Linked DNA regions of Homo sapiens: regions 1, 2, 3, 5, 6 and 7 are each linked to region 4. Evidence: promoter capture Hi-C in 16 types of primary human blood cells and fetal thymus (Javierre and others, 2016). All regions are on one chromosome and are shown on one strand. The core of a region is centred on a gene start or on the middle of the fragment in contact, and the rest is flanking DNA. Distances in the headings are between cores, read along the strand shown. Region 1 has its middle 100 kb from the start of CD8B2. Region 2 has its middle 59 kb from the start of LINC02946. Region 3 overlaps C2orf49 (chromosome 2 open reading frame 49). Region 4 holds the start of ECRG4 (ECRG4 augurin precursor). Region 5 overlaps LOC105375311 (a long non-coding RNA gene). Region 6 overlaps FHL2 (four and a half LIM domains 2). Region 7 overlaps FHL2 (four and a half LIM domains 2).

The links. The method cuts DNA at HindIII sites, captures the fragments that hold promoters and counts their contacts. A CHiCAGO score of 5 or more calls a contact.
Region 1: a fragment that was not itself captured here is called in contact with the fragment with the promoter of ECRG4 in region 4 in 1 of 17 cell types (monocytes); the score reaches 6.4 in monocytes.
Region 2: a fragment that was not itself captured here is called in contact with the fragment with the promoter of ECRG4 in region 4 in 11 of 17 cell types (non-activated CD4 T cells, activated CD4 T cells, total B cells and 8 more); the score reaches 12.5 in non-activated CD4 T cells.
Region 3: a contact is called between a fragment that was not itself captured here and the fragment with the promoter of ECRG4 in region 4, in 5 of 17 cell types (naive CD8 T cells, activated CD4 T cells, total CD4 T cells and 2 more). The highest score is 8.7, in naive CD8 T cells.
Region 5: a contact is called between a fragment that was not itself captured here and the fragment with the promoter of ECRG4 in region 4, in 4 of 17 cell types (neutrophils, naive CD4 T cells, total B cells and 1 more). The highest score is 8.3, in neutrophils.
Region 6: a contact is called between a fragment that was not itself captured here and the fragment with the promoter of ECRG4 in region 4, in 11 of 17 cell types (total CD4 T cells, naive CD4 T cells, total B cells and 8 more). The highest score is 12.1, in total CD4 T cells.
Region 7: a fragment that was not itself captured here is called in contact with the fragment with the promoter of ECRG4 in region 4 in 4 of 17 cell types (naive CD4 T cells, total B cells, naive B cells and 1 more); the score reaches 7.0 in naive CD4 T cells.

Annotation. Positions count from the first base shown.
Region 1 is chr2:106,585,657-106,588,758 of GRCh38, forward strand. No RefSeq gene overlaps it. Among named protein-coding and RNA genes, the nearest start is that of CD8B2, 100 kb to the left of the region's middle. The HindIII fragment of the contact is 4,259 bases long and covers 1-3,102 here.
Region 2 is chr2:105,550,554-105,553,539 of GRCh38, forward strand. No RefSeq gene overlaps it. Among named protein-coding and RNA genes, the nearest start is that of LINC02946, 59 kb to the right of the region's middle. The HindIII fragment of the contact is 368 bases long and covers 1,386-1,753 here.
Region 3 is chr2:105,338,206-105,341,119 of GRCh38, forward strand. It overlaps C2orf49 (chromosome 2 open reading frame 49), which reads left to right. Exons shown (of 4, transcript NM_024093.3): 2 at 1,378-1,544. Among named protein-coding and RNA genes, the nearest start is that of C2orf49, 2.1 kb to the left of the region's middle. The HindIII fragment of the contact is 1,249 bases long and covers 778-2,026 here.
Region 4 is chr2:106,064,136-106,067,433 of GRCh38, forward strand. ECRG4 (ECRG4 augurin precursor) reads left to right here and starts at 1,553. Exons shown (of 4, transcript NM_032411.3): 1 at 1,553-1,708. The coding sequence starts at 1,630. The HindIII fragment of the contact is 9,592 bases long and covers 1-2,476 here.
Region 5 is chr2:105,517,748-105,520,645 of GRCh38, forward strand. All of the region lies in intron 1 of LOC105375311 (a long non-coding RNA gene), which reads left to right. Among named protein-coding and RNA genes, the nearest start is that of LINC02946, 91 kb to the right of the region's middle. The HindIII fragment of the contact is 4,918 bases long and covers 1-2,898 here.
Region 6 is chr2:105,360,793-105,364,004 of GRCh38, forward strand. FHL2 (four and a half LIM domains 2) reads right to left here. Exons shown (of 7, transcript NM_001318895.3): 6 at 2,493-2,679; 7 at 34-642. The coding sequence ends at 491. It also overlaps a transcript of C2orf49 not described here. Among named protein-coding and RNA genes, the nearest start is that of C2orf49, 25 kb to the left of the region's middle. The HindIII fragment of the contact is 1,121 bases long and covers 1,329-2,449 here.
Region 7 is chr2:105,380,728-105,383,664 of GRCh38, forward strand. The region is part of intron 3 of FHL2 (four and a half LIM domains 2); the gene reads right to left. It also overlaps a transcript of C2orf49 not described here. Among named protein-coding and RNA genes, the nearest start is that of FHL2, 17 kb to the right of the region's middle. The HindIII fragment of the contact is 4,389 bases long and covers 1-2,937 here.

The DNA of each region.
Region 1 (3,102 bases), core at 593-3,092, 520 kb after region 4:
AGTCACTGTGAGGGTCCGCAGTTTCATTCTTGATGTCAGTGAAACCAAGAACCCACCAATTCCGGACACAGCACCAGGTCCAGATTGGCAAGAAAGGACCCTGGGCTTGCTCAACCGAGAGGGACAGGAGAACTGGGAGGGCAGCCTTAAGGAAGGGTGTGACCCAGAGGCTGGGCCAGGGGGCGGAACCATGAAGGACGAGCGTAATGCCTGGCTCCTTCCACCTCTGTTCATCACCACTCTTTTTGCTGTGATTCCAACAACATTTCCTATACGTGAAAACATTTTGAGGGAAGACTCACGAGAATCGTTTCACGAACTTATAAGCAAGAGTTCAGAGAAGTCCCAACGTAGAAAGTAAGTAGATAAAAGTCAATTGTTTTCCTTACACTGCAATAATAATGTTGAATATGTTATGGAAAATATTTTGTTTACAACAACAAATAGACTAAGCCAACAGAAGCCATAAAATCGTAGATAAAAAAACTGGTATTTACCGGAGGATCACAAAAGATTTCAGTAAAAGGAAAGATAGTATTTCTGCAGGGAAGAGTACTGCAAGTATGTCAATGCTTTTGACAATGATTTTATATTTGTTACTTAGAATGAGAGGTAGGTTGTGAGCAGGTATGTGTTTGGGGAAGGTAAGTTAATAAGCGTGGAGTTAAATGAGTGGAATGGGGTACGGTGTAGATAGTGCGTGGGTTTACACGGGGTGTAGGTGGGTAGTGGGGTCCGGTAGGTAGTTGAGTGAGTCAGGGCCGAGGGTAGCGAGTTGTGTGGGCTAGGGGTGGATACTGAGTAGGGGACGGCAGCGTGTGGCTTAGAATTGTTGCTTGAAAAATACTCTGCTTTGTTGAGAAGACTGTTTTGAATCTAGTTGTGTTATACTATAGTAGCAGTAGAAATTTTAATTGCTTTAAATAGATTTTATGTATGTATTTATGTATGTATGTATTTCATTTATGTATGTATGTAAGAGGGTCTTCTTACTCGGTGGCTTAGGCTCAGTGCAGTGGTGCCATCAAGGCTCACTGCGGACTCAAAATCCTGGGTTAAAGCAATTTTCCCACCTCAGCCTCCTGAGTAGCCAGGACTACAGTATCATCATGCTCAGCTAATTTTGTATTTTTGTAGAGACGGGATATTGTTGCTTGTAGATGTTGCCCAGGCTGGTTTGGAACTCCTGACCTCAAGCAATTTTCGTGCCTCGGCTTCCCACGTAATAACTGCGTGGGTTTAGATAGTGTGTGCTGTTGGTTTTTCTAGGTGACATTTGAGAGTTTAATTATTTTGCCTCATTTTTCTTTGGCCATACAGATCTAGCCAAGCCTAGAATACTCAGTTTGGCAGAGGACAATTGGTCCCTTTTCTTTCCTTTTTCTTTTTTTTGTTAATGGGATTTTAAAAAAATGTATAATTGACACATTATCATTGTACAAGTGTATGGGGTACAGTGTGATGTTTCAATGCACACAATGATCAAATTGGAATAATTACCACATCCATTACTTTAGACGTTTATTCTTTGTGGTGACAACATTGAGTATCTTCTGGTTATCTTGAAATATACACTACATTATTTCCTATGGTCACCCTACTGTGTAACAGAAATCATTCCTCCTAACTGTGACTTTGCCCGGATGACCAACTTCTCTGGTTCCCTGCCTCCCCCCTGCTCTCCCCAGCGCCTGGTCACTATTTTACTCTATACCTCCATGAAATCAACTTTTTAAGGTTCCAGATAGGAGTGAGATCCTGCGGTGTTTGTCCTTCATGCCTGTCTTATTTCACTTGACGAGAGTCCTCTGGGTTCACACACTGCCCCTCTTTGGGGTGAGCTTGCAGTGTTGTGGATCAGCTGCGGGGTATCAGCCTCCGGGCGCTGTGGTCCCGGTCCTCTTGTGCTCCGCTGCCCCCTGCTGCCCATCCAGGGTATGCGCAGCGAGTGGGGAAATCCTATGCCGCCTGTGAACCTTCCCATTATGTTCGTTTCTTGTCTAAAATATGAGACTTAGGTTTTCATTGCTTCTGTTCACTTCAGAAGAATGAACAGAAAGCACTCGCCACCCTTTAACCTAAATCAAAGTATAAGCCAACATTTCTAACAAGAGTACGGATTCTTTCTTACCTTTGGAGTCCACGGACCCTTAAAAGGTATGTGGGTCGTGGCCGGGCGCGGTGGCTCACAGCCGTAATCCCAGCACTTTGGGAGGCCGAGGCGGGTGGATCACGAGGTCAGGAGATTGAGACCATTCTAGCTAACACGGTGAAACCCCGTCTTCACTAAAAATACAAAAAATTAGCCGGGTGTGGTGGCGGCGCTGTGGCGGGTGCCTTGTAGTCCCAGCTACTCGGCAGGCTGAGGCAGGAGAATCGCTTGAACCTGGGAGGGGGAGGTTGCAGTGAGCCAAGATGGCGTCACTGTACTCCAGCCTGGGCAACAGAGTGAGATTCCTTCTCATAAATAAATAAAAATAAAGAAATAAATATGCGGGTGGGCCTCCTGGAGGTGACCAAGCCCTCGTGACAGTTAGCATGAATGCGTATTTATTTAAGGTTGCACCTTTGGCTTTCACCAGATTCTGTATAGGGTTCATATTCCCAGAAGTTTAATATACATTGCTCTGGAGCAGTGACATTGAAACTTTTTGGACTGTGCACCCCCAATATGTATATTTACTCATAACTTGTATACGAGTACTAAGTGATGAGCTGAAGGTGAAATAAGGATGTCTTTCAACATCCTTATTCACGTCTTTCAATGTCTTTTAGTGTCTTTGTGTCTAGTGCTGATGGGTTCATAATAGCATTAGCCGATATCGCAAGTCACACAGGCAGAGGTTTGCCACCAATGGTGGAAATATAACCATACTCCTCCTTGACAGTTACCGTTCAACTTCTCATTGCTTCTATCTTGACATGTGGTTGATGAAGAACTAGTATTAGAAGTAGTCTACTCGGGAGGCTGAGGCAGGAGAATGGCATGAACCTGGGAGGCGGAGCTTGCAGTGAGCTGAGGTCGTGCAACTGCACTCCAGCCTGGGCGGCAGAGCGAGACTCCGTCTCAAAGAAAAAAAAAATAGTAGTATTAGGACCCTT
Region 2 (2,986 bases), core at 320-2,819, 510 kb before region 4:
GACAGAGTCTTGCTCAGTCGCTCAGGCTGGAGTGCAGTGGCGCGATCTCGACTCATTGCAAGCTCTGCCTCCCAGTTTCATGCCATTCTCCTGCCTCGGCCTCCCGAGTAGCTGGGACTACAGGCGCCCACCACCACGCCTGGCTAATTTTTTTGTATTTTTAGTAGGGACGGGGTTTCACCGTGTTAGCCAGGATGGTCTTGATCTCCTGACCTCGTGACCCACCTGTCTTGGCCTCGCAAAGTGCTGGGATTACAGGCGTGAGCCACATGCCTGGCTGGGCCCGGCCGTGAAGCATATTTCTGTATGTGAACAGTAAACGATTGGAACTTGAAATTTTACAAATATTTACAAAAGCATCACAAGAAATAAAATACTTAGGTATAAGGAAGAGAGCCCTCACTAGCAACCAAATTTTGCTAGCACCTTGATTTTGGACTTCTCAGAGTTCAGACTACAAGAAACAAATTTCTGCTGTATTAAGCCAAAAGTAAAAAAACTTAGATATAAATCTAACAAATGATGTGCAGGATCAGTATGCTTAACTACAAAACACTGAAGAGAGAAATTAAAGGAGACCTAAATAAATGGAGAAATATATCATGTTCATGGATTGGAAGATACAATACCGTTAAGATGTCAATTCTATCCAATTAGATGTGGAGATTCAGCATAATCAAAGTCCCAGTAAACTTTTGAATCAATAAGACTCAGTAAGCTGATTCTAAAATGTATATGGATAAGCACAGGAACTGTTTGGAAAGGCCAAACAATATAGTTAATTGATTTTTGACAAAGATGTTAAGATAATTCAATGGAGAATTACTAATAGTAATTTGAGCAAAGGATTAAAAAAAGAGAACCTTAATATACACCTCAGAACTTTTTCAATATTAGCTCATGGATTATGACCTAAATATTAAACATAAAACTTAAAAAAGTGCAAAAGAAAATGTAGGAGAAGATCTACATAACCTAGAGTTTATCAAAGAGTTTTTAGATATGACTTCAAAAGATAAATTTAATTTGATCAGTTTGGGTGCAGTGGCTCATGCCTGTAATCCCAGAACTTTGGGAGGCCGAGGTGGGTGCATCACTTGAGGTCAGGAGTTCGAGACCAGCTTGGCCAACATGGCAAAACCCCATCTCTACTAAAAGCTAATACAAAAAATTACCTGGTCATGTTGGCAGGTGCCTATTAATTCCAGCTACTTGGGAGACTGAGGCAGGAGACTCGCTTGAACCCGGGGGCTGGGGTGGTGGTTATAGTGAGCCGAGATCGTACCACTGCACTTCAGCCTGGGTGAAAGAACAAAACTCCTTCTCAAAATAAATAAATAAATAAAAATAAAATAAAAAATAAAAATAATATGATCAAATTTAAAAGCTTTGCTCTGTGAAAGATACACAGAAATACAAAGAGAATAAAAAGATACCCAGAGAATGAAGACAAACCAGACTAGCAGGATATGTTTGCAAGTCACAAATCTAATAAAGATCTTGTATATGGAATACATAAGGAACACTCAAAACTCAGTAAGGAAACCACCCATTTCTTAAAAAATGGGCAAAGGATCTGAACGCACACTTAACGAAAGAAGACACAAGGACAGCAAGTTCCAAGCAAATGAAAAGATAGCAAATCCTAAGCAAATGAAAATGTAGCAAATCCTAAGCATATGAGCAGATACTCAACAATACCAGTCATTAGGGAAATGCAAATTAGAACTACAAACTTTACATACAAAACACAAGCTTGGAAATAAAAGTATTATGAATTTCAAGATGACAGGAGCAGAGCATTAAACCAAGTGGGGGGCCCCTCTGAGCCAAGGGCCCCATGTGACTGCGTAGGCCACCTGCCTGTAAAACCAGCCAACACAATTTGTGCAGAAAAAGAAAAATGGCAAAGTAGAAGCTTACTATTTTCAGCAGGTAAGCCCCAAATTACTGATAACCTTGATATTCATAGTGATAATACCTAAAGCAAAATCAATGTTGGTTAGATGTCAAGGTGGCTGATAACTTGTTAAATTAATTATTTACCAATTTGTTTCATGATATAAAATTTTCTCAAAGCATTTTCTAAAAGGAGACAAAATCAACAACAAAAATGTAAATACATTCCGTTCTATTATTCTCTTCTTGCGTAATTTTACCACACGATCAGTGCCTTAAGTAGCAAGATGATACAGGTAATCATAAAAACAGAATGGGCTCATATCATTGCTTTTTCTCTGGTCTGAATTTTAAAATCTTACTTGGGCATAGATTTCTACCAAATTGTTGAAAATAACATCTTCTTCTAAAGAAAAACATAAACGCACTTGGTCCGCATAGAACAAATGACTTTTTTTTTTCTTTCTTTCTTTTCTTTTTTTTTCAAGACGAAGTCTTGCTCTATCACTCAGGCTGGAGTGCAGTGGCACGATCTCGGCTCACTGCAACCTCCACTTCCCAGGTTCAAGCAATTCTCCTGCCTCAGCCTCCTGAGTAGCTGGGATTACAGGCACACGCCACCACACCCTGCTACTTTTTGTATTTTTAGTAGAGATGGGGTTTCACCATTTTGGCCAGGCAGGTCTGGAACTCCTGACCTCGTGATCAGCCTGCCTCAACCTCCCAAAGTGCTGGGATTACAGGCGTGAGCTGCCACACCCGGCCACAAATGACTTTTCAAAAAGTTGCAGATCTTAGAGAGTCATCTCGGTTCCAAGAAGAATAAGAACTTTTTATAAGGCAAAATCATTTCTGTTAACAGGGGAAAATTTTTATCTAACGACGTTTAGTGGGAAATGGGAAAATTCTCATTTCCCCTGGCCAAATGCTATTGACAGAGCAATAACAAAAGGAGAAAAGCATGTCTGTGAAGATTATGTGAGAATTTCCAATAGCTGGTATCTGAGAATTGCTCTGGTCAATTGCAGAAACTGCTTTAAAAAGAAAGAAAAATACCTTTCAGGGATGAAGCTATCATACCAAAATT
Region 3 (2,914 bases), core at 152-2,651, 730 kb before region 4:
CTTTTCCAGCTGGTGTGGCCTCTGATAATAGGAGAAAAGTGAGAAAGGAAAAAAGTGATGTTTTAAGTGATAGAGAATTACTGGAAGTTTCCTTGGGGTTTATGTAGCGTATTTTGTTGTTTTTCATATGGCTTTCCCCTTAGTACCCTATCTTTGTTGAATTTCAGGTCCTCTTGCCACGTAGAGCTTAATTATGTCAGTAAGTTTTTACCTGTGGTTCTCAAACTTTTTAGGTACTTAAGAATGAGTCGAGGGACTTGCTAAAACACAGATTGTTGGGCTCCGTCCTCAGTTTCTCGTTCAGTAGTTCCGGAATGTGGCCCGAAATCTTGCATTTTTAACGAGCTTGTTGCTGGCCCAGAAAGCATGCTTTGACCACCACTGTCCTAAGGCAATACTTTCCAAAGTAATGGGCTTATGAATTCTCTGGGAACGTTGTCCAAGAGAATCCTGGTAGTTTCCCCTACTTCTGAGCGAGTACGGGCTAAAAATAGATGAGTCTAATATACGAAAGAGAAGTAAAATGTGCTTTTATTAGTTTTTGTTAGAGGATATAGGCTTGTCGGTGGTACTAAACACAAATGTTTTCAAGCCTTTCTGAGTTGAAATTGAAGAGCCTGTGATCTCATTTCCATTCTCATTTCTCCTTCTTAAATCCAAACTCTGTCTTCATGACTACTCCTGTGCTTATGCTATGTTTTTCATGATGTCAAGAACAAATTGGAAAATGAGGAAGAATTTGGTGATTTAGATAGAGATGGTTGGACAATGACTGGAAGCTTACTTGAAAGGACCAGTGAAAATGGGGTGCAGGCTTTTCTAATGATGTACTGCTACTGTCGTCAGTACGGGAATAACAGTTTCTATTTGTGGTATTATTTGAAATCTTGGTAGTTAACTTCAATTTAGGAAGCACCAGATTAGAGAAGCACGAGAAATATAAGACAGACTGAGACCTTCATCCCACTAATCTGATCATGATAGTAACACTCAAGGTAGCTTATTGACAGAATGTGGTGATTGTTAATCATTGTTAGCTTTCTTTTGTCAACAGGCAGTCTCCCATTTTCAATCCCCTTTGTATATTAAGATAATTTTACTGGAAATGATCTTTCATGCTTGGTGTGTTGGCTGAGCAGTTGTGGACAGCAATCCCTGTCACACTGAGAAAATATGACCATTGTTTTTAAGATGAGGCTGAACCTAGTATCTACAGAATTTAACCTTTAACACTGTCTCTAAGTGCGCGTGTTATTGTGAAAATGGCTTTTTATAATTTGTTATTTAAGCAGTAATGTTTTACCATGTTAGGTAAGGTGGTTACTTGTTAAAATTAAAAACATTGTTTTGAAATTACTTTTGTTTCCTTTCCCGCAGAAGAACATAGCTGTTGAAACTGATGTAAGAGTAAACAAAGACAGTCTTACTGACCTTTATGTCCAACATGCAATACCATTGCCTCAGAGGGATTTGCCGAAGAATAGATGGGGGAAAATGATGGAAAAGAAAAGAGAACAACATGAGATTAAAAATGAGACTAAAAGGTACTTTTTGGTGGTTCTAGCTTTCAATTTATCTTATATAACTAAAGTTATATATAAGTTATTGATTTTTCCTGAGATAAACTTAAGTAAAAAATTTATTTACTCAATGACTATCTATTGAGCACCAGGCACTGTGCGTATAGCAGTGAATAAAACTGACAAAATTCCCTGCTCATATTTTTGATGGGAGAAACATAACAACAGTTAAAATATGGTATTGTTATATAGTAATAAAGGCCAGGGAGAAAGATTACAATTTTTGGTAAATTATCCAGGAAGATCTTAGTGAAAAATGACATTTTAGTAGAGAGACCTGTAGGAAGAAGAAAACAAGCTAGGATTCCAGGCAGAATACAAGAGGCTGGATCTGGAATGTGCCCATCATATACCAGGAACAACAAAGCAGCTATCAGGGCTGGATGGAGAAGTAGGAAGAACGAGTTGTACTGGGGGCAAACGGGAGAGATTGTCAGATCATGTAAAGCTTTGTAAGTCATTGTAAGGACTTTGGCTGTACTCAGATGAGAAGCCACTAGAAGGTTTTAAGCAGAGTGGTGACATCATTAGATGTACATTTTGACAAGATGACTCTGGCTGCTGTCCTAAGAAGTGATTTAAGGTGTGTGGGGAGGGGAAGCGGTGTGTATAAGACTGGAAGCAGGGAAACAAATTAGAAGCCTGTACTGTAATCCAGGCAATAGATGGCAGCAGCTTTGACTACAATAGTAAATTTGGTGGGTTGGAGCATGCATGTATTTTGAAGATAGAGCCAATAGGATTTCCTGAATTTTGAGGAAAAAGTCAAGTCAGGTAAAACTCTAAGGTCTTTGAATAATACACAAATGAAGGGCCTGTTAACTAGCTTAAGTTATGCTATTTAAAATTATTTAATTTCAAAAACAGTTTTATAAAACCACAAGCAAGTGATTTTTTCTTTTTTAAAGAAAATTACATTTGATTAATCAGTGTTGTTGATTGGTTAATAAGTACAAAGTGTCCTAAGATCCTTAAGTGAACTCTTCTGTGTCTATTATATCTCAAGTGGATACTATTGATCAATTAATTTTTTTTTAGGGCCTTCTATTTGTAAGGCACCGTCATAGGCAATCCACTAGAAGCAGTGAGAGAAGACAGAGTAGGAGGGTAGGGGTAAAGGGGAGTATGTTCCTCTGAGTTTTAATCTCTGTTTTACAAAGAAAAATTTAATGATTGAGATTATTCTCCAATTATGAAGAATAGTCGAAGAATACATGTCTGCTCATTGTCTTTTGGAAAATACACACACAGTCTGACCTTTGATCAAGAATGCATTTTAGATTGACCATTTTAGCTTGATGGTTACTTTACTTACTAGTACAGACTATGTAGTG
Region 4 (3,298 bases), core at 303-2,802:
CAAGGGTTTAGAAGCACTTCCCCAAGATAGCTAGATGTGTAACATTATCCTTCTGATTCTCTCTGACACCCTGGGCAGTATCATGATCTAACTCAGACCCACTTTGCACTTTTTTCTTTGGTTGGCCACCATCTGTCTTTACTAGCTCAATGTTAGAAGACTTCTTTCTCCTTCCTGCTGGAGAAATTCAACTGCATTGCATGGAGAGCTAATTATATGGAGAGACAGTAAGTGCTTACCACTGGAGGGTATAAAAATACTGGCCGGTGTGGTGGCTCACACCTGTAATCCTAACACTTTGGGAGGCCGATGCGGGTGAATCATTTGAGTTCAGGAGTTCAAGACCAGCCTGGCCAACATGGTAAAATCCCTTCTCTACTAAAAATACAAAATTAGCTGGGCCTCGTGGCACATGCCTTGTAATCCCAGCTACTCAGGAGGCTGAGGCAGGAGAATCGCTTGAACCCCGGAGTTGGAGGTTGCAGTGACTGAGATCCCATCACTGCACTCCAGCCTGGGCAACAAGAGTGAAACTCCGTCTCAGGGAGGGGAAAATAAGTGAGAACCTTGGTGAAGGAAAGAGGTAATCAGCTCAGTTCAGGGCAGATCTGAGATGGGAAGACAGGAAAGGTAATCTCACATCTCCATCCTTTTGTAGCCCAGGCCTGGAGAGAATAATTAGGTGACCCGCTCAGAGTCCGTTGGGATAAAGTTGTTCTAGTTTTTGTTCACTACGCCTCCTTTCACGTGTCCTCTACAGTTGAACAGGCCAGTTACTGGGATGCAGTTCTGCGTTTCCCTTGGGTCTCACCTTAACATCGCTCGCTGAAGTGTGCCCAGATTACAGAGCGGGCAAAGGGAAGCAGTGGTTTTGCTCACAGCTGCAGGGCACCAGGTTCCTGGTTTCTCAAAGGCTTTTCTATTGGAGAAGTTTGGGTGAGACGATTTCCCGGACTGCAGCTCTGAACCCAGACTGTGGAATCTTTCAAACTATCTCAAAAACAGCCCCGCCTAAGGCATCCTTAAGAGCAGCTCTGAACTAAGGAAATTCCAAAGCCCACTTTACAAACCAGGCAGAAGCAAGGCCCCCAAGCAGGGAGGGAGGGAGATAGGGAAGAAAGGGGTGAGGAGTAAGGGGAACAGTGGCGCGGCTGGGGCGGGCGGAGGAAGTGGGGGAGCCAAGGAGACACCCCAGCGCTGGGATCCGGCAAGTCCTCCCTCTGAGTGGCCAGGGGGCCTCGTCCCTTCTCCCGATGCCTTCTGCCCTTCCTTGGGTCTCCGGAACCCAGCTTGTCCTAACCGCTTTCGCTGCGGGCAGCGCTGGCCACGCGGCCCCCGCCGCCGGCGGTTCTCCGTGGCCAAGCATCCTTGGCCTTGGAGCCCAGGGGCTGCGTTCCCCTTGGGGCCGGGGCGGGAGAGAGGACCTCGGTGGTACTCGCCCGTGCGCTGGGCGCAGCCGCTTGGCCCTCAGCCCTCTGGCGCGGCGCCCACCCGCTGGGTCCCGCCCCGGCAGCGACGCAGGGATAACCCGCGGCCGCGCCTGCCCGCTCGCACCCCTCTCCCGCGCCCGGTTCTCCCTCGCAGCACCTCGAAGTGCGCCCCTCGCCCTCCTGCTCGCGCCCCGCCGCCATGGCTGCCTCCCCCGCGCGGCCTGCTGTCCTGGCCCTGACCGGGCTGGCGCTGCTCCTGCTCCTGTGCTGGGGCCCAGGTGAGCGGGGCGATGCCAGGCTGATTGATAGCGGCACCAGGGGTTGGCCCCATGTGGCGCTTCCATGGTGCCCGGGGAGAGCGATCGGTGATGGGGTGGCGGCGTAGGGACCCATCCTTAGCCTAGGCAGGGCCAAGGGGTGGTAGAGGACCGGGTCTGGGGTTTTGCACTCGCACAAGTGCGAAGTGGTGCCCTTGTGAGGGTGGAGAGAGTACCGGGGTCAAGGGGAGGGTCTCAGATCTCCCGGGCAACCTTGGGCAAGGAGGGCCAGGCGTCCGAAGGGTGGGCAAGTAGTGTTTCGTGGCTTAACGTAAGGGGCAAAAGGGTTGTGGGGGCTTTACGCAGCTGGTAACCCAGAGGAGGCAAATGGCACCATCACCGCCATTCCCTTCCAGGCAGTCGCTTAGCAACCAAGTTGACTTGCGCTTCCCAGCTGGGTCAAGTTGCAATTTGCAAAGCTGGGCACAGGCCTCACACCCCAGAGAGGGGAAAGGCTCTTAAAGGAGTAATGCTTAATCTTTCCTGCTTCGTGGAGCTCCCAGCGAATCGGTTGAAAACTCTGAAATTCTCTGCTCGCTCTCTGTAAAACGTGCATTCACACGCACACCCAGAATGATGGGTGCTCCGATATCTGATCGCTGGGCTCCACAGGCCCCACTTTAGGAACCATAATCTGAAGCCGTGGTTTGTCCTGAGTTACCACCTTCACTGGGTAGGAGGAACATTTATGGTTCACAAGTGGCCTCAAGGACACATGACTGCCTTTGAAGCTTACAACTAGGGGAGGCAGGGATTGTTACCTCAGAGTTACTGGTGTATGAAGTGACTTGCCCAAGAGCCTGAGACTGGCGCTGTCCCACTGCAAAGCAGCTGGGCACTGCCTAATGTAAAAGGGAGGCTCACTCGGTTGCTCAGTTTCTGTATTTTGCTCATTCGAAACAGGTATGGAAACTGAACTCGAGGTGAGAAGAGGCAGGGGACATTCAGTAGGAGCCCTGGGATGGAGCCCCGGGGTTGCTAAAACAGCAGGAGGCGTGGTGAGGTCTGTTCAGGTGGGGAGGATTATTGTTCCACCTTAGAATCACAGGCGAAGCTAATCAGTCATTTCCCGTTGTATGGTTTACCTGCCTCCCACTCTTTGTTCTTGCCACTTTAAGAAGCACATCTGGGCCGGCCTTGGTGGTTCATACCTGTAATCCCAGCACTTTGGGAGGCCGGGGGGGGGGGGGGGGCAGATCACCTGAGGTCGGGGGTTCGAGACCAGCCTGACCAACATGGAGAAACCCCGTCTCTACTAAAAATGCCAGACGTGATGGCACGTTCCTGTAATCCCAGCTACTCGGGAGGCTGAGGCAGGAGAATTGCTTGAATCTGGGAGGAGGAGATTGCGGCGAGCTGAGATCGTGCCATTGCACTCCAGCCTGGGTAACAAGAGTGAAACTCCGTCGCAAAATAAAAAAAGAAATAAATAAAAGAAGAAGAAGAAAAAAGCACATCTGAATAAGTCAAGTGAGCACTGGCTACAAGCCATTTATTTTCAGGACTTGTATTTTATTTAGTTTATACCAATAACTCAGTTAAAATATCATC
Region 5 (2,898 bases), core at 78-2,577, 550 kb before region 4:
ACTTTGCATTATTAACATATATTTATGTGTGTGTGTATATGTGTACATATATGTACGTGTATATATGTGTATTATGTATGTATGTATATTTTTCTCTGATAACTTAATGCTGCCTTTGAGGGCACAGGCCCCAGCTCCCTGGTATTTGTGCTACAGAACTCTGGCAGGCACCCAGGGACTTGGCTGGCCAGAGGACCAGGAGCATGTGGGACCAGTGCCTGGGGCTCCCAGCCAGGTTTTCAGCCCTTGCCATGCTGCCTTCTATACTGACCCCTTGCCCTTTGCAGAATGCCTGTGGGTTTGAGAACGTCCCAGGGGACTTGCTGTTAGCCGCTTCCAGCTGGTGACATCTAAAGGCTTGGAGGCCATGGCTCCATAGGCAGCATGCCCAGAACACTTACCAACAAGAGTGCACCCAGAGGCTGCAGTTTCGGCTCTAGATGGGGTCCTCTTGTCCTGCCATGCCCATGTGTCCCAAGCAGGCATGTGAGGGAAAAGAGAGTCAGAATCCCTTCTGCACTGATGGGCTCTCAAGAGGTATTATATGTACTTGCATAGAGAGGGCCAGTGGGGATTTAGAATCAGCCAAACAGAACTGGGTTTGAACCCCAGCCCCCTGATGACACATGTGTGACCTGGTGAGGTGGCCTGGCCTCTCTGGACCATAGTCCTCACAGGAAACATGTTTGCACCTGCATTGGACCTGCTTCCCGGGGTGCTGGCCGGCCAGGGGCTCAGCCTAGGTGTTCAGTGATGTCTGTCTCGGTATCATCACTGCCTGACTGCCATGGTCTGCAGGCGGGGTGGGGCAGGGCTAGGAAGGGTCCATGGCTGGGACCAGCTCCAATGTTGATGAGCGTTTCCTTTATAAGAGGTGCTGAGCAAGCACTGTCCTCATCCAATCCTCCCAACAAACTTGGGAGTTTGGTTTGTTAATCCCCAGGTCACAACCAAGGAAGTCACCTCTCACGAAGGCCACTCAGCTGATGGACAGAGTCAGGCCTACATCTGGCCTCCCTGATCTGCTTCCCCAGGAGTCCAAAGACCCAGATGTCCTCCACATTAGCTCATTTCCCACCGCACTGCACTTTGTCATCCACACCAAAGTCAGGTGGAGTTAATTCCCTGCTAAACTCATCCTTGGCTCTGCAAGATGAATGCCGAACCCTTAGCCTAGGCCAGGAGGGGAACCCTTCACACACCGGGGGCCGCAGCTCCAGCTCAGCCCCCAACACCCATCAATGCACACAGGCTATTTGACCCCCTTGACAGCTCCCAGGCAGCCCACACTTGTGTCTGTGCACGTGTGCTGCTGCATCTTCCAGGGACCATGCTTCTCCTCTAACGCCTTGTGTAAGTGTGACCTCTCTGGGGAAGGTCTGCCTCATCCCCTGGGGAGACACACTTGCTCCCTCATCTGGGCCCTCTTGGCATGGTGTTCATTCTCCACTGCATAGCGCTATCATTGATCAGTTTGCATGTATGCTAGGAGCTCCTAACCAGTATTTATTGGACCTCTGCAAGCCTGGGAATCTGTAAGTGCTGAACTCCATGCAGGCAGGGCTGTCTCAGCCACCTGCTGCCTGGGTGGCTCTGGGCAGGCCCTTCAACTCTGTGCTCAGGATCCTCATTTGCACAATCAGCTAAAAGTAGCATTTTGTTCCTAAGGTTTTTATAAAAATTAAATTAGTTAATATAGATGAGGTGCTTAGAATAATGTTTGGCTCACAGTAAGTAAAAGCTAATAAAGATTGACTACTATTATTATACTCAGTAAATATTAAATTAATACATGAAAATAGCACAAATGGAAGCCCAATTTAGCCTTTTGCCCTTCACAGACCGCAGGTTCCCTTTCTTCCGTATCTATAAAAAACTTTCTGGACAAAGTAGTTACTCAACATTTATTAAATACAAAGAATAAATTAGTTTAAATATCACAGAAAAGAAGGATGCTAAACCCCACACCGCCACTTACTGGAAGATATCATGCACTCAAACCATAGGCTATTACTAAACTTCAGTTTGTCTTTAAATAAAAATTCTTGGGGGGACAGAGTCTTGCTCTACTAGAGCTAGAGTACAGTGGCATGATCATAGCTCACTGTAGCCTCAAATTTCTGGGCTGAAGTGACCCTCTGCCTTGACCTCTGAGGAGCTGGCATGCACCATCACACCTGGCTGACTTAAAAATAAATTTTTTTTAAGAGATGGGGTCTTGCTATGTTGCCCAGGCTGACCTCAAGCAATCCTCCAACCTCAGCCTCCCAAAGCACTGGGATTACAGGTATGAGCACCATACCCAGCTTAAAATTTTTTATTTCTAACTGACAATCAAGAACTTGCACTGGAACAACTAGCAGGGAGCGCTGCCCCTTCAAGATATTTCTTACTTGTTTTAGCCAAATTGGTTTCAGTTTGGGTGAGATTAGATTTTCAGTTGTTTTTTAGTAATGTAGACACACATTACTATATGCTTATTTATATCCTCTGACTTTGAGTGTTCTCAAGGGTTCTAGTCACAGAGTCATCTAGTCTTTAGGAAAAAAAGAGACCAGAAGGGCATTAACATATATTTAGTTCTGACCATGTGCCAGGCATGGACCTCTGGGTTCAAATGGCCTCATCTAGGATATGGGATAAGTAAGAACAGAACGGTTAAGTATGTGTGATGAAATTTAAGTATTTCTGGAATCTATAATGCAACAAACCGATATCCCCTATTCTCTTACCCTATCCATTTGTGCACTCATTCTTGCCACAGCTGTGTCAGGTATCTATGCCATAATACAGCTGGGCACCTCAGGGGGACCAGGAGAGCAACATTAACCTCTAAGTTCCAAGCAGTTTATATTTGAGATTAATGCTAAGGCAAGTTCACAAATAGTATAATGGGCA
Region 6 (3,212 bases), core at 639-3,138, 700 kb before region 4:
ATCATGATTTCACACTCTGTGCCTGGCAAAAGATTCTGTTCTGAATAACTTTATTGCAAGTCACATAATCTTGGTTTAGACTTGACGCAACGGGAGGTTACAGAGCTGTAAATAACAACTGGTCATTACCTTATTGAGTTTAGAAAACTTTCAAGTTCGTGACATATGTTAATTGCACTTAAATAGACAGTGAGAGAAAGATTTATAAAGGCATCATTCAAAAGGATTTTTACATTTGGGTGTGCCTTACTCGATTACAAAAATTTCAAACCATCTTCCCACCTAGGGCCTAGGGCGAGTTTTCTCTTTCCCTGGGACTGAACTATCACAAAGCACTAAAGGGTTTAAGCAAACGTGAGTATCACTGAAAAGCACTAGAAGAAAGTCTCAATGTGGCTGGAAGAAACCAGAAGGCAAGATTGCCTGGGTGAGAAAGAAAACATAAAAATCTGTGTGTGAGATCACAAGCAGCAACTTCTCTGTGTTGAATTCAGATGTCTTTCCCACAGTCGGGGCACAGGATGTCGTCCCTCTCTGTGAGGAAGCCACGCCCCACCAGTGAGAGGGAGCACTTCTTACAGTTAAAGCAGTCGTTATGCCACTGCCGTTCCTCAAAGGAGATGTATTTTGTGCCACCAAGTCCTGTTAACAGAGAGAAAATAATACCGGATGAAGAAAGTTAGAATCAGGCAACTGGGACTGAAGAAGGAATTCTGGTTTGATCCATTTCAAAGTTTGGATTGTGTAATATGGATAATGTGAATTTCTAGTGACTGGGTGTTGGGAATCCATATGTAAATCAGATTCTATGCACAGCCTGGAGGATCTCGTGAATATCAGAAGAGATATATAAACTGGTTCCAAAACGATGGGATAAGTGCGATCAAAGAATGCTGACTGTGTATTTGTTATGTGTTTTCCCACAAAATGAAACTCCATGAGAAGAGGGAGCAGATTTCTCTTATGTCTTCACTAGGTGCCTCACGTTGCCTGGTGCTCAAATTTTTATGACTTAATGATTGAAGCAGTGAAGGGAGTGTAGAAGAGGAAAAGGTTAATCCTCCCTGGGATGGCCAGGAAAGGCCTCACAGATAAAGTGCGATGTGGGTGGGAATGAGGGGAGAGGGATATTGTCGCAGTGGGAAGATCCTGAGAAAGCTGCAGACAGATAGAATGGAATCAAATATTTAAGGTACATTGGTCCGTGATTATAATACAGTTGGTTTTTACCTAGTGTTTTTTCTCAGTGCCACAATAACCACAATTCACATTCATATCTAATGTTTTACATTTAAAAGTGCTTTTATATAGATTGTATCACTTTATAAAGCTTAATGTTATAAACATTTACCTCAACAGAAGTTACTGCTGAAAACAGCATTAAAGATGAATATGTTCTGGCAAAAGATTACATTTTCCCCCTAAAAGATTCCAAGGGAAATCTGGTATATAAATGACCAGAAACAGATATTTTAACATAGGTAAAGTGTAAATACTGTGCTTTTCTTCATATTTTAATTTCACATGGAAATGTAATGAGCTCTGCATTACACATGAGAGTACTGTTTTAGCGACCTGGGAAGGTGAGTTAGCTGAGTTAGGTGAACTTGGTTCTAGGCCTAAGGGAAAGGAAAGTCAAGGACAAGTACACAGGGGGTGTATAGATGTGTTTCTGTAGTTACACTGAAAAGCCACACAGGAAAGCCAGGCCACCGGGTACTCCAAGTGTCTGCCACCTTCCTCTGATAGGAACGAACCAGTCAACTGAATGCAACGGGATTGCAAATCCCACATCATAAAACTTCTCCTGTGTTATTACAGAACACACACTTTTCTCTCCCCACCCAGTCACTCATTTGTGTAGCGATATGTGGTGACCATTTAAAGGACTTTAGTGTGAACTCCTCTGTTCTCCACACTGAATTTCTCCAGCCTGCTTAATAGTCTAGTCCAGAAGCCTGGTCTGCCAGCCAGCCAGATTTTGGGCTCTCACTTAGCTGAATTCTTTGGGGGAATACAATATGAAAAACTCCTTAGAATGTACCCTCTGCCCTCATATAGCTATGGCCTTGTGGTAGAAGTTTCCCATTAAGATGTTTTGGAGTACAACCGTCCCACTAAGATGCTAGGGGACACTTCTAAGAACACAGCACAGCTGCTAAGCCTGAAAAGGCCAGTTTTTATTGTGCTTTTGTGATGTCACAGGCTCACAGACTGCAGTTTTAGCGATAATCCAACCCAAAGCAGAAACTAAACTGGAGCACTGGCCATATGGTTGTGATCAGGTGGGCTGCAGAGGAAGGAATCATTACTTGCTGAAGCATAGCCAGTGCACCAAGGAGAGGAAAGCAGATAGGCAGAAAAGTCTGCTGTGTTCAGAGCCTTAGGGAGGTCTGGGGAGTTGAGGGATATAGACAGGGTCACAGGCTAAAATGCTAGGCCTTGTTCAAGCTTCCAATCGCCCCTGGAAATGGGAACCCCGGGACACTCACCGCTGATGGGGTTGGTGCACCCAGCACACTTCTTGGCATACAAGTCACAGAAGCAGTTCAGGCAGTAGGCAAAGTCATCGCGAGCTGTGAAGCGCTGCCCAGACAGCTGCTTCCTGCAGGCGGTGCACACGAAGCACTCCTTGTGCCAGGGCTGCTCCCGGTAAGTGACCCCTCCCGTGGTGATGGGCTGCAGGGACGAGGGGGAGAGTTAGTGTGGCCTCTGTGCTTGGCAGACATCTTCAGTCTCAGCTACTGCCACTGGACGATGCAAGATCCTCATCCAGAAACGTCCAGTTTGTTAAGTCACCAAGAAGCTGCTTTACAAACTTCACAGTCACTCGTCACCCTCACCACACGCTTTCATTCCAGTGTCATAGGCCCTGGCTTTCCCGTTAGTGAAACTGGAGCTTGGGGTTGCCCTCAGCCCTTCCCAGGGATGCTGGGGATCTAAGGCATAGGGTGCCTCAGTGGTGTTGCCACCTTTCTGAGCAGGGAAGCAGCACAGTGGAGGGGTCGGGATTCAATACAGCATCAAGGAGACCTGGGTTTGAATCCTAACCCTACTCCTTACCAGCCCTGTGGCTGGGAGCAGGTCATGATAAAGATCTCTGCACTTCAGTTTTCTCATCCAGGAAGTGAGGGTGATGAGGTTAATTGGGCAAGTTGATGAGGAGTCCTTACTTAGAAGCCTGGCAGGGCTGGTGGCTCACACCTGTAATC
Region 7 (2,937 bases), core at 57-2,556, 680 kb before region 4:
TAAGATGGAAATATCCGGTTTTAAATTCCTCTAGAGAGAAATTGAAAACAAAAAGAAAGAAAAAAAAAGTCTTTTATACTTCCCAGAAAAAAATACCAAGGCTAATCTTGTGCTCACAGAAATGTCATACATTGCAGTAAAATGTTGATAAACATGTACGATTAGGCCCACACACTTCCTTTCTGGTTTTGTATTTTTCCATTGCAGAAACATTCCTAACATGGGCTGTGCCTGTTGCTTGGCTCCGAATGTGTCCTTTTTGAGACTTTAGCTGAGCTTTAGTGGCAAGTGGCCTGGAGGGAGCCCTGGACCCCTCAGTTAATGGAAGGTGGCTCTGGGTGGCAGGGTCACCCAGACTGAAACGTCTGGCTCTCATCCTCCCTCCTTCGCACCCCATTCCACCAGGGCTGGCACCAACCATTCTTCAGATCCATACGATTTCACTTCAGACATGGATTCTCATGTCATTCATGCTCAGCGTTATGAAAAGATATTTTCTGCTTGAGATCATCAGGTTTCCAACTGTACATTCTTTCAAATCCTTACAAATAAAGATGCAGAAAAATGGACAACAGCAGAAATGACAGCACTGTGTTGGCATGTCACAGGTGCTCCCTAGACGTTAACTCACTCAATTACCCCGACAGTCCCGTGAGCTAGGAACCCCAGTGTATAGACATGGAAACGGAGGCTTATAGGTGGCAGGACTTGTCCCCTTCGCGCAGCTTGTCAAAGGTGGAGCCAGGGAGATTTGGTTCCGGGGTCCAGCCTCGGTGCATGCGAGGTCACTGCTGAGCGCTGTGCACCTCTGCTGCTATGTCTTGTGGCTGAACTTTTGGTTTTATGCACTGACAGGCCAAGTTCGTGCACTGACAGGCCCTTCTCATGAAATCCATCCAGACAGCTTTGCTTCTGATCCTAGGACCCTGCTTGATTAAATTCCCTTCACAGACAGATTTTTGTCTTTTAGGAGGAAATCCAAATAAATACGCGTTTTCAGTGCTCGTTACAAACTCTGTGGACAAATTCTACACGGAAGAAGATCCAAGAAGGTAATTTGCTCATTGAGAACTTAAAAACCACCCCAACAAATAAAAAAGCACCAGGTTGGCAGGCTGGACCCTGAGAATGTGACTGGAGTAGGTGCTCTTCCCAGAAAAGGGTCCAGAAAGACCAGCGAGGGAGGCCTGTGTTACACCGAGGACAGAAGGGTGGGTTTTTCAAACCTGACCTTACACCTTTCACTAGGCTTGGTCAGAAACCTTCCAAAATATACTAGGGGCATCTAGATTTAACCTGTATGTGTGAAAACCTTCGTCTCCTATTTCAGAGCCCTGCCAGGTTGCTTTCTGCCAAAATATCACTGAACATTTCTGTCCATTACCAAACATTAACTGAGACTTTTACAGCCAATTTGATCATCACTTCAATGTTTCCTATTAGCTACAAAAGCTGGAAAGAGAGTTTGTGAAACAACTTGAGCCTCAATTCTGCAATGTAATCATCACCATCTAAAGGGGCCCATGAGAAGAGTAGGGGCCTCTGACTGAAGGTCACTTGATTGAGGCCAGGTGGTCACCATCTCTTACTCATAAGGACTGACCACATCTGGCCCGAGAGTCACATAGACAGGGTCCTGCCCGAGGCTGCAGGTAGCAGGTGGCATCACATGCTAGGTGAGGACCCTCCGGGTCTGGGCTCAAATTGTACCTCGGATACTTCCTAATCCCTTTAACCCTTGGCAAGATCCTCATCCTCTCTAGGCCTCAGCGGCTACTCCATAAAATGGAATGAAAAAAGTTCCTACCTATAGGGTGTTAGGAGAAATTTAGATCATGCAGTTTAGGCATTTACAAGTGCCTGGAACAAGTCATCAGGCAATACACAGTGGTTTCAAAGACTACCACTAGAAACTAAACCCTGAATGCTAGTTTCTGATCTGCAGATCTTTTGTTCTTGTTTATTATTTTTTTTTTCTCTTTGTAGCACCCTCCAAGCACATGGGTGGGTATGGTGGCCAGTCCAATTTCATGGCATTGCTTGCAGACCCATGGAACATTCAAAGTCTAGGTTACGTGTGTCGCCCAGGGCTTAAAATCACCAATTTGTTAAATGCACAGTATTAGCAGCTGTCTCTGGAGTTATTGGCCAGCCTATTTTTTATTTTTATTTTTTTAAGATGGAGTCTTGCTCTGTCACCCAGGCTGGAGTACAGTGGCGCAATCTTGGCTCACTGCAACCTCTACCTTCCAGGTTCAAATGATTCTCCTGCCTCAGCCTCCCAAGTAGCTGGGATTACAGGTGCACGCCACCACACCCAGCTTATTTTTGTATTTTTAGTAGAGACGGGGTTTCGCCATGTTGGCCAGGCTGGTCTCCAGCTCCTGGCCTCAAGTGTTCCACCTGCCTCGGCCTCCCAAAGTGCTGGAATTACAGGCGTGGGCCACTGTGCCCAGCCCTATTTTTTCTTTAGTTGGTTGAATTTTTGAAGCCCAGAACGTAGGCAGATCCCCCAAAAACTCTGTAATCAGTCTACGAAAATATTTTGTTAATGCTAACAGGTATCCAAGAAAAGGTTCAGGAAGCATGTAATGTCAGAGGATCATAAAATTGTATTAGCATTGTCTATTCTCCACTATTACACTGGCCATACAAATCAATAATCTTTACCCTTTGAGATCACAGCATTTTCCCAGAGTAACTTAATAGAAATAAAGATTACAATTCAGTGGCTACATAGAGAGGATGTTCAAACTATATAACAGGCTCTGAAGTCTTGCCTGTCTCATTTAAGTAGGTCAGGACTCTCAAAATTAGCCTAATTCCCATAGGCATGCCAACATTTAAAACTCACACACATGAACATGTCCTTTAGAGGGAAGTAGCTGAGGCCTGTGGTGGCTGTGCTATTTTAAGAGAAGAGATTGGCCACCAGAC